Regions from separate parts of the Homo sapiens genome. Here region 1 is linked to region 2. The links are contacts of gene promoters, found by promoter capture Hi-C in blood cells and fetal thymus (Javierre and others, 2016). All regions are on one chromosome and are shown on one strand. Each heading gives the region's core, a stretch centred on a gene start or on the middle of the fragment in contact. The rest is flanking DNA. Distances are from core to core; before and after follow the strand shown. Region 1 has its middle 3.2 kb from the start of MIR4514. Region 2 holds the start of C15orf40 (chromosome 15 open reading frame 40).

Region 1 (2,700 bases), core at 169-2,668, 2.0 Mb before region 2:
CCCCTAAATTTACTCACTTAAAAAATTTAATTACATAGACACGAATCATTCATTGTAGTTGCTAAATATTGGTAGCAACTAACTCGTTGCCTTTTGTTGGAATTTCAGATTTTCAGTAGAGAATGTGACTGGCCCAGTCTGAGGCAGGTGTCCATTCCTGGTCACCACCATTATTTTTGGGCAGAAGAGCATACTCACAGAGTTAAACATAATAATTAAAATTGTGTTTTCCTGGCTGGGCATGGTGGCTCATGCCTATAATCCCAGCACTTTGGGAGGCTGAGGCGGGCAGATCGCCTGAGGTCAGGAGTTTGAGACCAGCCTGGCCAAGATGGTGAAACCCCGTCTCTACTAAAAATACAAAAATTAGCTGGGTGTGGTGGCATGCACCTGTAATCCCAGCTACTCGGGAGGCTGAGGCAGGAGAATTGCTTGAACCCGGGAGGCAGAGGTGGCAGTGAGCCGAGGTTGTGCCACTGCACTCTAGCCTGGGTGACAGAGTAACACTCTGTCTCCAAAAAAAAAAAACAACTTATAAATCAATAAGAAAAAGATGAACAACCAAATGAAAAACGGTCTAGGACATGAATAGGTAATTCCCAAAAGAATAAATATAAATGGCCAGTTCACATGTGGCAAAAACAAAACAAAACACAGAATCTCTCTAATATCAAAAAATGCAAATTCAAACATGTTATAATTTTTAAATTATCAGTTGATCCTGGATAAAAATACAGACAGTATACACTGTTGACAAGGCTAAGGAAAGAAGTCTTCTCACTCACTTCTCGGGGGATGGAGTTTTCTGCTTGAAAATTAGGTGAAATGTATCAACTCCCCCTCCCCACAAAAAAGTGCATAATATGATTAGCAAGTCTACTTCCAAGAACTTGACTCTGAGGAAACAGACAATGAAAATAATAGTAATGTTAATATTGAGCACTTACTATTCGACAGGCATTCTGCTGAGTGCTTTCCGTGTATTTCTTCACTTACCCAATGTAACAATCCTATAACACTCTCCATGAGTGGGGAAAATGAGAACAACTCTAAGTGTTTCAAAAATTGTAGACTATAAAATCTACATTTACAGTTGCAAGCTGTATTCCACACATATGATGGATAATATGCAATCAAATATATATATTTGTTGCTACTAAAGATATTCATTTTATACTATATGATTTTAAATGCTATTAAAATTATACAGATATATATCTATGTATAGGAAAAGAGCTGCAAATATGTATACGATGGCTGTCTCTAAGCAGTGAGATTCCAAAATATTTTAACCTTTTCTCTGTATTTTCTATTTTTCTTCACATCTAACATACGTCAGTGGTGGTGTGTTGTTTTTGTTTGTTTGTTTTTTTGAGACAGGGTCTTGCTCTGTCACCCAGACTGGAGTGCAGCGGCCAGATATTGGCTCTCTGCAACCTCCACCTCTCAGGCTCAAGGGATCCTCCCGCCTCAGCCTCCCATACCACACCTGGCTAATTTTTGCATTTTTTTTTCTTTTTTGAGACAGAGTTGCACTGTGTAGCCCAGGCTGGAGTGCAGTGGTGCGATCTCAGCTCACTGCAACCTCTGCCTCCCGGGCCCCAGTTCAAGCAATTGTCCTGCCTCAGCCTCCTGAGTAGCTGGGATTACAGGCACATGCCACCATGTCCGGCTAATTTTTGTATTTTTAGTAGAGACAGGGGTTTCACCATGTTGGCCAGGCTGGTCTTGAACTCCTAACCTCGTGATCCACCCGCCTTGGCCTCCCAAAGTGCATTTTTTTTTTTTTAAAGGATGGGTTTTCACCATGTTGCCCAAGCTGGTCTAGAACTTTTGGGCACAAGTGATCCATCCACCTCGCCCTGCCAGAGTGCTGGAATTATAGGCGGGAACTGCCGCGCCTGGCCCACTTGTGCTTTAAAAGGAGAGACACACATAAACACACTGCTGCTTACAAAATGTGAATTGATACCCTTCTTTCCACCAATATGTAAGGGTGAAAAGTCTAATTTCAATGGAAATTATCAGAATAATACATGTAATTCAAATTATCTACAATAGTGCAATGGCCTTGAAAATTTGGGGATGAGATCTGAATCTCTGAAGAAGGCAGGACTTTTATCTGTGTCATCTGAAAAAATTACATGTACTTTGCAGCACAGATATATGCAGTTATGTTCAGAAAATTCAGTCTGTTTCCAAAGAATCACCTCCCTGGACTATCTCAAACAAGCTGTAAGAAAAATGAGGTGAACACACTTGCTAAGCAAACAGGCCTCAGGCCTCCCCTTCAATCTTAAGAGTTGTGAGCTGTTAGGTCATGACCAGACCTAGACTGTACCCCTGCTGTTGTTTCATGAATATCCATGACTTTCTGTCCGTTACTGAATAAAAGTTGTGAGCAGCCAGAGTTTGGTTCAATAAAAGGGCACCTTTCTTGCACAGAGACTTAACAGATAAAATAATTCATTAACTTATTAATGCCATAAACACTGAATACATTAAATGTGGGGGAAAGATGCATAGATCAAGTCCCTGCCCTTACAGAGATGATAGGGTTGTGGAGAGAGTTACACCAACAGTTACAAGTACTTGACGCCACTCTGAAGCTGAGCAGGCATCATAGTAGCTACAAGGGGGGGAAGAAATACCTGGGTCTGTCTGAAAGATCAGGGAACCTCCTTGTGAGGCACCAATACA
Region 2 (2,700 bases), core at 3-2,502:
TACAGGTTACAAAATATTTTCCCACACATTTAATTTGATTCTTCCACTACCCCCTTTCACCCTTAACAGACAAACTAGGCTCATCAGTGGTGTCCAGGGACTTCTGGCCACCTAGAAAGCTTTTCCCACAACCTTCAAGGCTCTACTCAATTTTCCCACGAAGGGTTCCCATCAACCCAACAGTGTTTTTTCCCCCCTTGCAAGAAAACCTAACTCTGGCTTCTAAACCTTAATGCTTGCTCCTCCCTCTGCTTTGTATTTCCAATTCCTTGGGGGCAGGGATCATTTATTATTCATCATTGTATCTCATGCAGTCGGAGCTAATAAATGTTGGTGAAAGTGTGTATGTCTGCATGTTGCGGGAAAGGGAGGAAAAAAAAATAGTGCTTGATATTTAAAGGCCTGTTATGGGACAGGGGCTGTGCTAGGAACTTTCGTTCAACAAATATGTAGGCAATGGATATGTAAAGATGAAAAGGTACATGGTCCTTGCTCTCAAGGAGCTCGGACTGCTGCGAGGGAGAAAGAACATACAAAATTATAATACACTGTGCTAAGTGCACCGATGAGATAGGCACAGAACATTACCCCACAGGCAAATCAGCATTGGGGCACTGGAGAATGCTGCCAGCAGGAGGCAGTGCTTGAGCTGAGTCTGAGAAACGGACTGGGGTTGGCCAAACAAAGATGGTGGAAATGGGAGTGCTGTATTCTTGACAGAAGGGGTGCGATCAGCCAAAGCAAGGGAGGAGAAAGCAGAATACAGCCTCCTGGGGAAACGCAGGTCATGCCGCTGCGGGAACATGAATTGCTGGACTGGGAGTGCGGGTAGGAGGCCAAAGGTCAGCACACGCAGCCCAAGGAGAGCTCGGCTGCCGCCGGGCCCAGCGCTCAGAAATCACCAGGTGGACGGCAGCGCAGCCTACTGAGGCGGGGCGACGGCAGCAGGCCGCAGCTCTGGGGGTGGCGGCGGCTGTCCTGAGCCCCGGAACTGAGAGACGGCAAGCCGCTGGCAGTGCCTCCACTCACTCCCGGGCCCCGCTTCTCCCGCGCTCTTCAACAAGTACCCCTGAGGCCCACCCCTCTGCCGCCACGGGACCTGCTACTGGCCTTGGTCGTCGCACCAGCCTTCTTAGGCATCTCGGCGCAAAGAAGCCGAGCGGAGCCCCGAGTATTGGGTGTTGCCCGAAGGTGCCTCAGCCCGCTGCGGAGCCGCAGCATCCCCGCCTGGGAAGGCGCCGGAAGAGCCCTCTGCGCTTGCGCAGGTAGCCGGCAGGAGCGGCCCCACCGCCCGGCGCATCCGCTCTGGCCAGAGGGCGACACCTTAAGGCCGGCGGGAGCGAGTCTCGTGGCCGCAGAACATGCGCGAGTCTCTTTTGTTCTGGAACGGGCCGAGCCCCAGGAAGTGGAGCTGCGGAGCTGAGGCCTCACCGTGTCTTGGCCCACCCTGCTCAGCTGATAGGAAGGTGTGTCACCTCTTTCCTAATCGGGGAAAGAAAGGTATTGTCACTTCTCAGAATTGGAGAGCGCGGCAAGGAGTGCACAGGGCCAGGTGTCTTCTCGCTCCCACAGCCAAGCAGCAGATGCAGAGTCCCACGCGCTGCCTGTGGCCATCAAGTCGATATAGAGCCTCGTGGCGGCTTGGCCCTTGTGAATCTTCCACGTATCGATGGCGCACCTACCTTGTGCCAGGCGCAGCGGATCCCACAATGTAAAAGAAGAGGAAATACACTGCGACATGTGATATGGAGAGACATGAAACAAATCAGCAGAGGCAAGATCATGGAGTCACTGAAGGCTTTCAAGCAAGGGATTATTAGCAGCCCAATTTGCTGGGTTTTAGAAAGACACCGGCTGCACTGTGGCCGACAGAGGAAAAGCCAGAGACAGGGAGATCCGCCCCCTAAATGGGAGAGGGTGGCCTGAACTAGAGTAACCGCAGGGAGGGTGGAGCGCTGATCATTTCAAGGATCTTCAGGAACTGAAATGATCAGAACTTGGGAATGACTGCATGTGCGAATAAGGGGGAAAAGTCAAGGAAATGCCCAGGTTTGGGGCCCAAGGAACAGGTTTGGGAGGCCGAGGTGAGGAGTTCAGCTTTGGACATAATGAGTTTGAGATGCCCACAGGACATCCAAATACAAATGTTAAAGGGGTAACTGAATATATGTGACTGGAGTTTGCGAAATCAAGGCTGGTGATAGAGATTCTGGAATCTTCTGAAAGCAGATGGCAATTGAAGCTATGGAAATGGATGAGAGAGTGTGTAAAGAGCACGAGGGCCCAGGTTAGAACAGCAAGGGCAGGTAGAGAAGTCACCAAAGGACACTGACCAGGTAGGAGTACGGTGTAACGGCAGCTAAAGAAGGGCGCTTCAAGAGGGAACATCAACAGTGATGAACACTCTGGAGAGAACATGTCACATGTAACGACTGAGAAGTGGCCACAAGATTTAGAAATCAGGGTGGTGGTGGTGACCCGGGCTACAGCAGTTTTAGTGGAGAGAAGGAAATGGAGATAATTGTAGAGAATAATCCAGTGACTTCACTGTGAAGGAGCAATTGGTATCTGGAGGGGCACATGACATTCAGAGACTTATTTTTATCATATTTGAAGATTGGTAGGAAAGAGCCAGGAGAAGAGAGGTTACAGCAGAGGACGGTTCCTGAAGAGGTAGGATCTGAGCTCAAGTAGAGATTG

The links. Contacts are between HindIII fragments. The CHiCAGO score rates a contact against its expected background, and 5 or more counts as called.
Region 1: a contact is called between a fragment that was not itself captured here and the fragment with the promoter of C15orf40 in region 2, in 6 of 17 cell types (activated CD4 T cells, total CD8 T cells, naive CD8 T cells and 3 more). The highest score is 11.5, in activated CD4 T cells.

The regions. Positions count from the first base shown.
Region 1 is chr15:80,992,961-80,995,660 of GRCh38, forward strand. No RefSeq gene overlaps it. Among named protein-coding and RNA genes, the nearest start is that of MIR4514, 3.2 kb to the right of the region's middle. The HindIII fragment of the contact is 7,858 bases long and covers 1-2,700 here.
Region 2 is chr15:83,010,387-83,013,086 of GRCh38, forward strand. It overlaps C15orf40 (chromosome 15 open reading frame 40), which reads right to left and starts at 1,253. Exons shown (of 4, transcript NM_144597.3): 1 at 1,111-1,253. The coding sequence starts at 1,221. LOC124903542 (a long non-coding RNA gene) reads left to right here and starts at 1,355. Exons shown (of 2, transcript XR_007064742.1): 1 at 1,355-2,673. RefSeq lists an enhancer at 1,431-1,490. The HindIII fragment of the contact is 2,628 bases long and covers 118-2,700 here.